Regions from separate parts of the Homo sapiens genome. Here region 2 is linked to region 1. Evidence: promoter capture Hi-C in 16 types of primary human blood cells and fetal thymus (Javierre and others, 2016). All regions are on one chromosome and are shown on one strand. The core of a region is centred on a gene start or on the middle of the fragment in contact, and the rest is flanking DNA. Distances in the headings are between cores, read along the strand shown. Region 1 holds the start of KCTD2 (potassium channel tetramerization domain containing 2). Region 2 overlaps NUP85 (nucleoporin 85).

Region 1 (7,341 bases), core at 1,954-4,453:
TAGTCAAGCATGGTGGTGCACGCCTGTAATCCCAGCTACTTGGGAGGCTGAGGCAGGAGAATCGCTTGAACCCAGGAGGCTGAGGTTGCAGTGAGTCAAGATTGTGCCAGTGCACTCCAGCCTGAGCGAAGAAAAAAAAAAGAAAAATCTCATGTACCCCATAAATATATACACCTACTAGGTACTTACAAAAATTAAAAAAGAAAAATAAATAAGATTAAGATCACCCATGAGTTGGTAATTGTTGAAGCTGGATAGTGGATGCAAGGAATTCACTGTATGTACTATTCCCATTACTTCTGTATGCGTTTGAAATATTGTTTAAAAAGGGACATTTAAAAAAAGAGAGAGAGAGCAATTCCTCTTTCTACTAGCTGAAACAGAGTTGTTTCACAGTCACTTCATTAACTAGTACAGCCATTACAAGCTTTCTTACTCAGAGCCAAAGCTCCCAGATCAGGGTGCCCTGGATTTAGGGACAGTCCCCTTTACAACTGAATGCCTTCAGTGGGACCATGCCAAGCCTTGTAGAAAGTGGACTAGACCCACTTATAGTCCCAATGCCCTACAAACCACAAAGATGAGGCAAGTAATGATACACCTGACAATGAACTAGAGAATGAATTAGGTCAGCTGCAAACATTTACAGGGAAGCATGAGGCCAGAGTCTTAAAAGAAATGAGGCCAAGCCTTTATTATTTTTGTACAACTGTGAGTTCAAACCAAAATTAAAACTATAAATAATTGAATGTCAGAGATGTCTTGCTTCTTCAGACTACAGACACTCACTGCTAGCACACAAACAAATGTAAAAAAAGGATCGTGACAATTCTGGAGATTCGGAAAGAACTCCTGAAGTTATCTGCAAAGCGGAGCTACCTATCTTCCTTCTCACCCAGGAAGCTGAACAAAGCCTAAGGAGGCTTCCTTAATCATGACTCCCTCAGACAAGACTGGTAGTTTCTGCTCTGTTTCATAAACCTGAAACTATACCTGCACATGCGCCTGATGAAAATGTCAAACAAAATTGAAATCTGTAAAACAACTTTAAAGATTCTACTTGCATTTTGAAAATCCCCAATGCAAACAGTGCGCTTACCTTCTTCTGCCAACTCCTTAGTGATGATGAGTTTCCCGTGGCGGAGGTAGTTGAGGATAGGACCAAAGTAGGTGGGGTCCCTGTCAATCAGATAGGCTCCTGTCTCATCCTGCCAACCAAACACAAGGGTATCATTGTGGACCTTTGAGGAGTATTTTAAACAAAGGCAGGGCAGGATTTCACCATCTTTGTCAGCGCCCCAAGACAACAATTCATTCCATCAGCTAAAAAAGACTTTAGTGATGGCAAATTTTGTTACACATTTGTCACAAACTATTGGTAAGAAAGCTATAGCTTTATGTATCTTGTACATTAAGATCATCTTAGGTAGGGTGTTACAGACAGTCATACTCATTTAGGCGTTTACTTACTGGCTGGAATTTGCAATCTTTGCCTGGACAATAATTACAGTGACAAACATTCTTCTGTAGCGTGTTTGTTATTAAGAAAGGGAGAAAATGCCGTAGCTGTGTAACTGAAATCTTTGCTTGAGATGGACATTCTGACTTTTCCACTGCCTCTGAACTGCATTCCTAATTCCAAGAAAACCTCTGTGTAGTTGGCAATGCTCCTGAGCTCAAGGCCAACATCAGTGGGAGTTTGCACTGCCAGCTGTAATCTCACACACCCCAGCTCTGTGCCCAGAGGAAGCTCGGTACTGCCAGGACTTGGCTCTGAGCAGCTTTAATCCTACTCATCTTTACAGTAAAAGGAACAAGAAGAAACTGGCTTCTATTACCACAAGGAGGATATAGAGTAGATAAAAATAATTCCTTTATAAGCAAGGGTTTTGAAATCTCTTTAAAGTTAGGGCAGGATAGGTTTCCATCAATCTGAGATTTCTTAGAGAAGAGGAATAAACGAAAACAACAAATGTTTACGCAACTCCAGCTCTGTTTTGAGGTCACCAGCTGAGTGCTATATGGGATATAAGATGGTGTGAGTTATGGTCAGTGCCTTTAAGTTGAGAACTTAAAGGTGAATACGTAAAGTTAAAAAGAAATTGACACAGTTCAAACTGGAAATGGTTTAAGTGTCTTGTCACCTCTCAACCCTTTGGTTAGCAGCCATGCATCCTGCCCAAAATTTTCCCGGGAAAATTTTCATTTTCCTTCTGTCTTAGCCTAGATTTGCAGCGGCAAACAGTAACCTCTTTCCAAAAAACGCATTTGATCTAAATATGGACCTAAACCAGTGACTGTTAACAGATAAAAGTTCTGCGACCAGGACTATAGAAAAGCAGTGTGATATCACAAGGAGCGCTTCCTGCAGCTGTGGAAGCCCAACTTGGCAGAGGGGTCCGAGAGGGAGTCTGAGAAAGCTACAAGGATGCCTGAGCTAACCCTGACCCAGTTCTGGATGCATCTGGCACCGGCAGTGGGGGGACTGAAGAGGAGCCAGGGAAAACTCATGCAGATCTCAGTGGGATGTCAGGGGCAGAGAATATGGAGAAGGGGTGTGGAGTGCGTTCTCGTGGGTGCAGGTGGGCGCAGTGTGGGAAGGAGTCTCAGAGAACGAAGGGCGGGGTCGGGGAGAAAGCCAGAGTATGCCTCAGCATGGAAGAAGGGGAGTGGGAGGTCCCTCTGAGGCCCCTGCGAGTAGTGTGGGAGGGAGGGGGAGGATGGGGTCCCGGCCTGAGGGGGCTGCCTGTGAGGAGCGTGTCTCAGGACTCTGGGGACCGATCTACGAGAAACCAGGGGGTTCGAAGGCCCGGGGGCGCGCCCGAGGGCGGGGCACACCTTGTCTGAGTCCAGCTCCGGGTCCTCCTGGCAGCAGAGGCGGCAGAGAAATGACTTGGGCTCCCGGCCTAAGGTCTGTCTGGTGGTCACGAAGTAGGTGCCTCCCACGTTCAGCCTGACCCAGCGGGCCGCGCCGCCGCCCCCTGCCCGCTCGGGTGGTCCGGGACCCGGCTCCAGCGGCTGCGCGACGGCGGCAGCCGGGCGGCCGTGCCCGCGGGGCGTGGGGCCAGCCGGGCGTGGGCTGGGGGGCCCGCGGACTGGGCCACCCCCGTCGCCCACCCCACTCCCGCCGCCCCCTCCCAGCCCCGCCATCGCCGGGTCCAGCTGCAGTTCCGCCATCTTGGACCGCCGCCGCCACCGCTGCTGCCCGCGCGCAGCCGGGCCGGCCCATTTCTCGGCAGGGAGAGCCGGGCCGGCCCATCGGCGGGGGTGGGGCAGAGGGGAGAGGGACGGGAGCGCCCCCAACCAGCGCCCGGGGACCCGCGCGGGGGAGGCGCTGTGCCCGCCCCCGGGAAGATACTTCCGGAACCAGCCCTCATCTCTATTGGCTGATCTGCGAAGCAAGGCCCACCCCCTTGGCTTTGGGGTTGGCTGAGGAAAGATCTTCCCGTGACCCACTTCCGTTACTTGCTGCGGAGGACCGTGGGCAGCCAGGGTCGGTGAAGGTGAGTGGGGCTTGGGGCATTGGATCCGATCCCTGGAGGGCTCCTCTGCTCTGCCCTCTCCAAACCTCACGCCGACCCTTGTCACGCCCCCGTCAAGGACGCTGGGCCCTCGGCTTGCCCCGCTGGCAGAGTGTCCCTTGTGTAGCTGCCGCTCCTCGCCCCGCGATCCCTTCCTCAGCCCTCCTTGGCGCGCGGGGTCAGGGGGGCCCGGCTGTGTCCCAGGCGCCGCTGATGTAGGCGCTGCCACAAGCCGTGTCTCGTGCAGTCCGCTCCCAGCGCGGCAGACTTCAATAGTTTGGTGGGGGGACTGGGGAAACATTACGCAGACAGTGTTAACCTGCCGAGGGACGCTCAGCTGGCTGCGGGGCTGCGCCCTTCCCCTTCGGCAGCTTCCAGGATTCGAACGTATAGAGCGTTCAGGGCTCCTCGGGTGCAGAGTTCGGTTACTCATTCAAGAAAGATTCATTGAGCACCTCCTATGCGCATGATCTGTTCTAGGCGCTGGGGATTAAGCAATAGATTTTTAAGAATTAAAAAAAATTTCGCCGGGCGCGGTGGCTCACGCCTGTAATCCCAGAATTTTAGGAGGCCAAGGCGGGCGAATCGCGAGGTCAGGAGTTCGAGACCAGCCTGGCCAACGTAGTGAAACCCCGCCTCTACTAAAAATACAAAAAATTAGCTGGGCGTGGTGGAAGGCCCCTATAATCCCAGCTGCTCGGGAGGCTGAGGCAGGAGAATCGCTTGAACCCGGGAGGCGGAGGTTGCAGTGAGCCGAGACCACGCCACTACACTCCAGCCCAGGCGACAGTGCGAGACTCCGTCTCACTCACACACACACACAAAGTTATTTGTGACTTCCATTTTCCACTGATGTTGCGGGAAATCAGGGACCCCAAACAGAGAGACCGGCTGAAACCATGGCAGAAGAACGTGGATTGTGAAGATTTTATGGACATTTATTAGTTCCCCAAATTAATACTTTTGTAATTTCTTATGCCTGTCTTTACTGCAATCTCTAAACATAAATTGTAGAGATTTCATGGACACTTATCACTTCCCCAGTCAATACTCTTCTGATTTCCTATGCCTGTCTTGTCTTTAATCTCTTAATCCTGTCAGTTGAGGATGTATATCGTTCCAGGACCCTGTAATAATTGTGTTAACTACAAAAATTGTACAGCATGTGTGTTTGAGCAATATGAAATGTGGGCACCCTGAAAAAAGAACAGGATAACAGCAATTGTTCAGGGAACAAGAGAGAACCTTAAACTCTGACCGCCGGTGAGCCGGGCAGAACAGAGCCATATTTCTCTTCCTTCAAAAGCAAATGGGAGAAATATCGCTGAATTCTTTTTCTCAGCATGGGATATCCCTGAGAAAGAGAATGCGCACCTAGGGGTAGGTCTCTGAACTGGCCCCCCTGGGGCGTACCTGTCTCTTATGGTTGAGACTGCAGGGGTGAAATAAACTCCAGTCTCCCATAGCGATCCCAGGCTTATTAGGAAAAGGAAATTCCCACCTAATAAATTTTGGTCAGACCGGTTGATCTGAAAACCCTGTCTCCTGATAAGATGTTATCAATGACAATGGTGCCCAAAACTTCATTAGCAATTTTAATTTCGCTCTGGTCCTGTGGTCTTGTGATCTCACCCTGCCTCCACTTGCCTTGTGATATTCTATTACCCTGTTAAGTACTTGATGTCTGTCACCCACACCTATTCGTATACTCCCTCCCCTTTTGAAACTCCCTAATAAAAACTTGCTGGTTTTTGTGGCTTGTGGGGCATCACGGATCCTACCAACGTGTGATGTCTCCCCCGGACGCCCAGCTTTAAAATTTCTCTCTTTTGTACTCTGTCAAGCCAGTCGACGCTTAGGAAAATAGAAAAGAACCTATGTGACTATCGGGGCAAGTTCCCCGATACACTGATGTTTGGGAAAGTCTGTAAGGGTGCTTGGTTCCCTGGTAACTTTAAAATCACATGCCAATTGCCTTAACACCTCCCCTCCACAACAGGAAACAGGCTGTCCTGAGAAAGAAAGGAAGGACAGGACAGGTGTTTGACAACTTTCTTGAAGATCCTGAGAAAGACTGCTTCCGCCTCCCTTGCATTCCACTCCAAGCTTATAGAGATTTTTGACTTTGCAGTCTTTTAATATCTGACCCTGATCTTACTTAAAGAGGACTATTTTCCTATATTCTGACTTTTTTTTTAAGTGGCTGTAGTCGTTTTCTGTATTTTTCTCACATTTTCACATGTGTTGAATACCTCTTAAAATGCAGGCCGGGCGCGGTGGCTCATGCCTGTAATTCCAGCACTTTGCAAGGCTGAGGTGGGTGGATCACCTGAGGTCTGGAGTTTCAGCCCATCCTGGCCAACGTGGAGAAACCCTGTCTCTACTAAAAATACAAAAATTAGGGCCGGGCGCGGTGGCTCACGCCTATAATCCCAGCACTTTGGGAGGCCGAGGCGGGTGGATCATGAGGTCAGGAGATCGAGACCATCCTGGCTAACAAGGTGAAACCCCGTCTCTACTAAAAATACAAAAAATTAGCCGGGCGCGGTGGCGGGCGCCTGTAGTCCCAGCTACTCGGGAGGCTGAGGCAGGAGAATGGCGTGAACCCGGGAAGCGGAGTTTGCAGTGAGCCGAGATTGCGCCACTGCAGTCCGCAGTCCGGCCTGGGCGACAGAGCGAGACTCCGTCTCAAAAAAAAAAAAAAAAATACAAAAATTAGCTGGGTGTGGTGGTGGGTGCCTGTAATCCCAGCTACTCCGGAGGCTGAGGCAGGAGAATCGCTTGAGCCTGGGAGGTGGAGGTTGCAGTGAGCCAAGATGATGCCACTGCACTCCAGCCCGGGGGACAGAGTGAAACTCCATCTCAAAAAAAAAAAAAAAAAAAGTGCACAACGTGTGCTGGTGCTGCTAGGGTATAATCCGATGTGAATAAGAAGGTGCAGGTGTATTACCAATCTAGTTGGAAGGGGATAGCCCTTTTAAGTTTGTAAAACTCTGGAGCAAGTTGCTGTGCACAATTTCATGTGACACTTTTAGCAGCCCTCTGGGGCAAGCAGGACTGATAATGCCCATTGTACACATAAGTAAATTTTAGCCTAGAGAGTGCTCTATTTAAGGCTTGTTGAAACTTAGGTGTGTGTCAGTTTCTGTCTACTGGAGAATCAGTGAATAAAACACAATCTGGGTGGAAATGTCTTTATTAACTTTTATGCAATAAGAGTGTTATTTTTAGTAATTTTTCCAGAGGCACATGGAGGGGATAAAGAGAGCTGGGGTTTGTTTTTTTTTTTTTTTTTGAGACAGAGTCTCACTCTGTGTCCAGGCTGGAGTGCAATGGCGCTATCTCAGCTCACTGCAACCTCCGCCGCCCAGGTTCAAGTGATTGTCCTGTCTAAGCCTCTTGAGTACCTGGGACTACAGGTGCATGCCATCACGCCCGGCTAATTTTTGTATTTTTTAGTAGAGGCAGGGTTTCACCCTATTGCTCAGGCTGGTCTTGAACTCCTGACCTCAAGTGATCCACCCACCTCAGCCTCCCAAAGTGCTGGGATTACAGAAATGAGCCACTGCGCCCGGCCAAGAGAGCTGGGCTTTTAAGGCTAAATAGGAGTTGGGAGAGAATGTATTTGTATGCCACATTGCACACTTTGAATTTGAAAAGCTACACTGTCCTTTCCTTTTCTTTTTGAGACGGACTCTTGCTGTGTTGCCCAGGCTAGGGTGCACTGATGCCATCTCAGCTCATTACAACCTCTGCCTCCTGGGTTCAAGTGATTCTTATGCCTCAGCCTCTGGAGTAGCTGGGATTATGGCGCGGGCCA
Region 2 (7,341 bases), core at 2,753-5,252, 170 kb before region 1:
AAAATTAGCCGAGCCAGGAATGGTGGCTCACGCCTATAATCCCAGCATTTTGCGAGGCCAAGATGGGCAGACTGCTTGAGCCCAAGAGTTCAAGAACAGCCCGGGCAACATAGCGAAATTTCCTCTCCACAAAAAATACAAAAATTAGCCGGGCGTGGTGGTGCAGGCCTGTGGTCCCAGCTACTTGGGAGGCTGGGCAGGAGGATTGCTTGAGCCCAGGAAGTCGAGGCTTCTGAGCTGTGATCACGCCACTGTACTCCAGCATGGGTGACAGAGCAAGACCCTGTCTCCCCTCCCCCAGCATATACACACAAAAAATTAGCCTAGCATGGTGGCACGTGCCTGTAGTCCCAGCTACTCAGGAGGCTGAGACAGGAGGATCGCTTGAGCCTGGGAGGTCCAGACTGCAATAGCTGTGATTGTACCACCACACTCCAGCCTAAGTGACAGAGTGAGAACTTGTCTCAATCAATCAATAAAAATAAAATGAAATAAAATGGCAGAGTACAGCCAGCACTCCGTATCCATGATGTAGAACCTGCAGATACAAAGAGCCAACTGTAACCTCCTCAAAAATCCACTGGAGAAGGGAGGCCTCTGAACAACCAACTCTAATTTCAAGTTCCTCACTTCTTTAGTGAGAGTATGAATAAAATGCTAGGGCTACACAGAGGTTACTACTCATTTATGGAAAATAGCAAACATAAATCCTTAAAAGAAATGCAAAAAAGCTGCAGCAGATCCACAGAGAGCTCATACAGGCCATGACACTATACTGACCACAGTTTAATTCAAGATCAACAGAAGGCTGGGCACGGTGGCTCACACCTGGAATCCCTGCACTTTGGGAGACCGAGGCAGGCAGATTACCTGAGGTTGGGAGTTCGAGACCAGCCTGACCAACATGGAGAAACCTCATCTCCACTAAAAATACAAAATTAGCCAGGCGTGGCAGCGCATGTCTGTAATCCCAGCTACTCAGGAGGTTGAGGCAGGAGAATCGCTTGAACCCAGGAGGTGGAGGTTGCGGTGAGCTGAGATCACGCCATTGCACTCCAGCCTGGGCAACAAGAGTGAAACTCTGTCTCAAAAAAAAAAAAAGATCAACAGAAAAATTCCCATTGGCAGAGTTCATACCCATTGGCAGAGTTAACACACAGAGTTGCCCTGTCCCAATGATTCATGACAGAATTCCCAATGTGACTTTGCCTCTCACCACCTAATCCTACCCCACATTCATAAAACTTTCTTAAGCTTGGCCAGTCCATGATGTTAACACTGACACCCCCTTTCACACACTAGTTTAATATTTCTCAGTACTTGTCAGGGTTTAGGTTTCTTGGAGGCACTCTGCATGATTCTTTTTGCAGCACCTGACAAAACGGTCAGGTTTCTTTGGGTGTTTTCTAACGACTTCCCGTGGTTATAATGATGGAAAGAACATTCTCAGGAATAAAACACTCATCACCATGCACAGGAAAGATGAGGAAAGAGCAGAAGATGGAAGGGGACACCTATGAGATTATGGTGAGATATTCCATGCCTACCTGGGGCCACTTCAATAAAAAGAATCTCACACAGGTTCCAGATGAGCTCCATTGCTGACAAAATGGAGACCTAAGGAAGAAATGGGGACAGGTTTCACCTGAAATGATTCCTGAGCTTTGCTCTCAGAGCCAAGGGATAAAGCAGACTTTGACTCATATGACAGTCATTCCTTAACCCAAAGGTTACTGCAATCCTACTGGAGGATTTCCCACAGGGGAGCCAGCGTGAGGATGTTAGGTGGTGGGATGGAGACCAACACTATTTTGTTTTAGTGGTTGTGATTTTATTTTACTGTGCATTACAAAAATAACTTGGCCAGGTGCAGTGGCTCATTCCTGTAATCCCAGCACTTTGGGAGGCCAAGGCAGGTGGAATGCTTGAGTCTAGGAGTTTGAGACCAGCTTGAGCAACATGGCAAGATCCTGTCTCAACAAAAAATATAAAAATTGGCCAAGTGTAGTGACATATCCCCGCAGTCTCAGCTACTCAGGAGGCTGAGGTGGGAGCATCACTTGAGCCCAGGAAGTTGAGTCTGAGTGAGCCATAATCGTGCCACTATTCCAGCCTGGGCAAGAGCGAGACCTTGTCTCAAAATTTAAAAAAAGAAAAAATATAACTTGCATGTCACCAGTTATTATTTATTTATCTTTTGAGATGGAGTTTGGCTCTTGCTGCCCAAGCTAGAGTGCAGTGGCATAATCTTGGCTCACTGCAACTTCCGCCTCCCGGGTTCAAGTGATTCTCCTGCCTCAGCCTCCCCAGTAGCTGGGATTACAGGCGCCTGCCACCATGCCCAGCTAATTTTTTGTATTTTTAGTAGAGACGAGGTTTCACCTTGTTAGCCAGGAAGGTCTCGATCTCCTGACCTCGTGATACACCTGCCTCGGCCTCCCAAAGTGCTGGGATTACAGGCTTGAGCCACCGTGCCCTGCCAACACTCAGTTTTTGTTTTTTGTTTTTTTTTTTGAGACAGAGTCTCACTCTGTCAGTCAGGCTGGAGTGCAGTGGCATGATCTCGGCTCACTGCAACCTCTGCCTCCAGGGTTCAAGCAATTCTCCTGCCTCAGCCTCCCAAGTGGCTGGGATTACAGGCGCACACCACCACGCCTAGCTAAATATTGTATTTTTAGTAGAGATGGAGTTTCCGTGTTGGCCAGGCTAGTTTCGAACTCCTAACCTCAAGAGATCCACCCACCTCGGCCTCTCAAAGTGCTGGGATTACAGGCGTGAGCCACTGCGCCCAGCCTATCTTGATGAACTGATGCTTTAGCAAGGTGCTTCATTTGAGTAAAAAGAAGAGACAATATTTAGAAGAATATTCAGTAGATGACATGAAACACGTAGACAGAGCAAGAATTGTGAAGCTGGTATTCAAAGGACTGAAGTTTAGGGGAACAGTCTATTAACGGGAAAGCCCAATATAAGACCCCGAAATAAATCAGACCTGGACCTTGCCCTTAGGAATACGCAGGCTTCCCTTCCTCACCATCCTTCAGTCCACAGACACCATGATGACTTGTTCATAAGGGTACTTCAGAGACAGTGAATTACTACCTAGTCACTACTGACTTTGAAAAGTATCTAATATGAAGCATCTACTGAGGAAAAAGATACTGTAAGTCATCTTCCAGCTCCAAGTAAAGTAGAGCCACTTGCAACTCAGTAAAAATGTTGAGTTTAGCCGGGCGCAGTGGCTCACACTTGTAATCCCAGCACTTTGGGAGGCTGAGGCAGGCAGATCACGAGGTCAGGAGATCGAGAGCATCCTGGCTAACACGGTGAAACCCCCTCTCTACTAAAAATACAAAAAATTAGCCCAGCTACTCGGGAGGCTGAGGCAGGAGAATGGCATGAACCTGGGAGGCGGAGCTTGCAGTGAGCCGAGATCGCGCCACTGCATTCCAGCCTGGGCGACAGAGAGAGACTCCGTCTCAAAAAAAAAAAAAAAAAAAAAAAAAAACTTGAGTTTTGCCAGGTGTGGCAGCTCACACCTATAATCCCAGCACTTTGGGAGGCCAAGGCAGGAGGATCACTTGAGCCCAAGAGTTCGAGACCAGCTTTGACAACACAGAGAGACCCTGTCTTTCAAAAAAAAAATGTTGAGTTCAAGAAGTGAGGAGTGTTTATGAGACCGAGCAGTGATCTCACAAGATTACTTCTCCATTTCAGGTGACAACCCCTCAACACAATTTGGTCAGGACATATATGTTCCATAAGAACGGAACATTCAGGGCCAGCACGGTGGCTTACACCTGTAATCCCACCACTTTGGGAGGTCGAGGCGGGTGGATCACTTGAGGTCAAAAGTTCAAGACCAGCCTGGCCAACATGGTGAAACCCCATCTCTACTAAAAATGCAAAAAGTAGCTGGGCTTGGTGTGGCATGCACCTATAATCCCAGCTACTCGGGAGGCTGAGACAGGAGAAATGCTTGAACCCAGGGCACTCCAGCCTGGGTGACAGAGCAAGACTCCATCTCAAAAAAAAAAAAAAGGAACCGAACATTCACTCAAGTATTTAACAAGCACTTCCTTGTGAGCTACACCTTGAAGGGGGCAAGACAATCACTGTCACCCAAAGGAGCTGCCTATCTACCTGAAAAGAAGAGACTTCTGCCATAACAGGAACTGCAAAGCCACCCCAGGTGGGTGCCCAGGACACAGGACACAGTGGTGCTAAAACAATAAAGGTGACTCCCCTTACCTGGCTGCTGAACTGGCGGCCATTGGCTGGATCTTTAGCAGCAACTAACAAAACACAAAACATTTTAAGTGAGCAATGGAACTCTTAGGCTTATTGTCATAGCTGAATATTCCAGGGTCTATGGCTTGAGCCTCTGTTTATTTTAATGAGAAAAATTAAAAGACATTATAATCTCTTTTAATTATGGATTTTTTTGTTGCTGTTAATGCTTCATATCCCTTCAATTCTCAAACCAAAAGCCCTCAAGTTACAAAATGGCACTTTCAACTGCAACACAGCTACCATAAAGGTCTCTGACATGCCAAGCACAGTGGCTCACACCTGTAATCCCGACACTTTGGGAGGCTGATGTCAAAGGACTGCTTGAGCCCAGGAGTTCAAGAACAGCCTGGAAAAATTAGGGAGACCCCGTTTCTACAAATAATTTAAAAATTATCAGAACAAAGTTCTCTGAGGAAAACTGGACAAAAACTGTTTAAATTAGCTGGGCATGGTAGTACACACCTGCAGTCCCAACTACTTGGAAGGATGAGGTAGGAAGATCACTTGAGCCCAGGCGGTGAGCTCATGACTGCAGTGAGCCATAATGTTTCTTTGCACTCCAGCCTGGGCAACCTTGTCTCAAAAAAAAAAAAAAAAAAAAAAAAAAACTCCAGGCACAGTGGCTGACTCCTGTAATCCCAGAACTCTGGGCTTGGTGGTGTACAACTGTAGTCCCAGCTACTCAGGAGGCTGAGGCTAGAGAATCGTTTGAACCTGGGAGGTGGAGGTTGCAGTGACCTGAGTTCATGCCACAGCACCTCAGCCTGGGCGACAGAGCAACACTCGGTCTCAAAAAAAAAAAAAAAAAAAAAAAAAAAAAAAAAAAAAAACAACAACAAAAAAAAAAACCTCTAAATGATTACCAAAAAAGTAAGGATTATGAAAGATGGAAAAATAAGTTTTGGACTGGAATATCAATCAAACTTTACCTCACAGTATTTATGCATAGATAAATACTCAAAATACCCACACACACACACACACACACACGCGCGCACGCGCACACAGTCCTTACTTGCAACCTGGTGCATTTCCTCCATACATGCTCTGATGACTGATCGGTAGTTTTTACTCACTCGAACCAATCTACAAAAAATGAAATAACACACAAGATGAGCCTGGAACATCTTGTAGTGCCACAAAGGAAGGAAACACTCAAATAAATGCAGAAATTTGCTGAAAGAAAGAGGAGAGCCGTTGTGAAGGAGCTCCTAACCTTCTGAAGCTGGAACAACTTGGACAACAAAATAAAACGCCACAAAACAACCCATGGGCTAAAGTTAATATCCACAAACCCATACTGCCATTAATTGTTGCAGATGAAATCTACTGGTCAGACCTTGTCTCAAAAAAATAAAAAAGATACATAAATGTATTTACTGGCCAGGCCCGGTGGCTCAGGCGTGTAATCCCAGCACTTTGGGAGGTGAAAGTGGGCAGATCACCTGAGGTCAGGTGTTTGAGACCAGCCTGGCCAACCTGGTGAAACCCTGTCTCTACTAAAAATACAAAAATCCCAGCTACTCAGGAGGCTGAGGCAGGAGAATCTCTTGAACCCGGCAGGCGGAGGTTGCAGTGAGCCAAGATCATGCCATTGCACTCCAGCCTGGGCGACAGAGTGAGACTCCATCTGAAAAAAAAAAAAAAAGAATAAGACAGGGTCCCCTGCCAGCAAGGAATTACAGGACTTTTGACATGTTTTTTTCCTAGAAGTGACAATAGATTTCTCAAACTCACCAATATTCTCCACTAGAGTCCCTTAAATCCAATAATCAGGCCAGGTGCAGTGGCTCACTCCTATAATCCCAGCACTTTGGGACGCTGAGGTGGGCAGATCACTTGAGGTCAGGAGTTCAAGACCAGCCCAGCCAAAATGATGAAACCCCATCTCTACTAAAAATGCAAAAATTAGCCAGGCGTGGTGGCACGCACCTGTAATCCCAGCTACTCAGGAGGCTGAGGCAGGAGAATGGCTTCAACCCAGGAGGCAGAGGCTGCAGTGGGCCAAGATTGCGCCACTGCACTCCAGCCTGGGTGACAGAGTGAAACTCTGTCTCAAAAAAAAAAAAAAAAACAGGGCCAGGCACAGTGGCTCACGTCTGTAATCCCAGCACTTTGGGAGGCCGAAGCAGGTGGATCACGAGGTCACGAGATCGAGACCATCCTGGCTAACACGGTGAAACCCCGTCTCTACTAAAAATACAAAAAATTAGCCGGATGTGGTGGCAGGCGCCTGTAGTCCCAGCTACTCGGGAGGCTGAGGCAGGAGAATGGCGTGAATCCAGGAGGCAGAGCTTACAGTGAGCGGAGAACGCGTCACTGCACTCCAGCCTGGGTGACAGAGCGAAACTCTGCCTCGAAAAAAAACAGAAAAACAACCAATAATCACTCTTGCACACACTCACACAGAAGCTGACCTGAGTCTTGTCCAGAATGATTCATTTGTGAAAAGCTTATCAAAGAAGTAACATACCAACACTGCCCATTCCCTAGCCATCCATGTGAAGGGACGCTGACAAAAATCTAACACAGGAGTTCTTAAACTTCAGTGTGCTGGAGATTTTAAGATCCAACCACGGAGATTTTGATTTTGATGATCTGAGGTGGGTCCCAAAAGTCTACAATTAACAAGTACCACTCTGATAATGATGAAGTTATGAACTACAATTCAAGAAAATCCTAATCTATAAATAGTACGAGAGTTTTCTGGTCTGTTGTCAAATAACGTCTGAACCATAATTTTTTAGAGACAAAACTGTTAGGTTTATATTAATTTTCAAATCTCCCAACAATGTGACCTCATTCAACGACTCTCACATGCTTGTGTGGCCTAAATTTTCTTCTTTAGAGGCTAAGTAAAATATGAATATAAATAAAGCTTGTCAAGCCAGCCCATCAATAGCATTTGCATATTCCCGCTAAGTCTTCCCATCACTGCTAATGTACACTGTCCAGTACTCATGCCTCAACTAGAACCAGGAGTCTCTTATTTCTTTACGCAACCCATAAAACACACAAAAAGACAACAATGTACTTCATTTGGCTTTC

What was found. The method cuts DNA at HindIII sites, captures the fragments that hold promoters and counts their contacts. A CHiCAGO score of 5 or more calls a contact.
Region 2: a fragment that was not itself captured here is called in contact with the fragment with the promoter of KCTD2 in region 1 in 5 of 17 cell types (erythroblasts, M2 macrophages, megakaryocytes and 2 more); the score reaches 9.2 in erythroblasts.

The regions. Positions count from the first base shown.
Region 1 is chr17:75,043,087-75,050,427 of GRCh38, reverse strand. It overlaps KCTD2 (potassium channel tetramerization domain containing 2), which reads right to left and starts at 3,203. Exons shown (of 6, transcript NM_015353.3): 1 at 2,839-3,203; 2 at 1,100-1,208. The coding sequence starts at 3,177. It overlaps ATP5PD (ATP synthase peripheral stalk subunit d), which reads left to right and starts at 3,459. Exons shown (of 6, transcript NM_006356.3): 1 at 3,459-3,503. RefSeq lists enhancers at 3,220-3,514, 3,399-3,984, 3,923-3,992 and a silencer at 3,093-3,522. The HindIII fragment of the contact is 5,200 bases long and covers 430-5,629 here.
Region 2 is chr17:75,210,030-75,217,370 of GRCh38, reverse strand. NUP85 (nucleoporin 85) reads right to left here. Exons shown (of 19, transcript NM_024844.5): 4 at 5,309-5,379; 5 at 4,252-4,295; 6 at 1,548-1,617. Among named protein-coding and RNA genes, the nearest start is that of NUP85, 8.0 kb to the right of the region's middle. The HindIII fragment of the contact is 5,491 bases long and covers 1,257-6,747 here.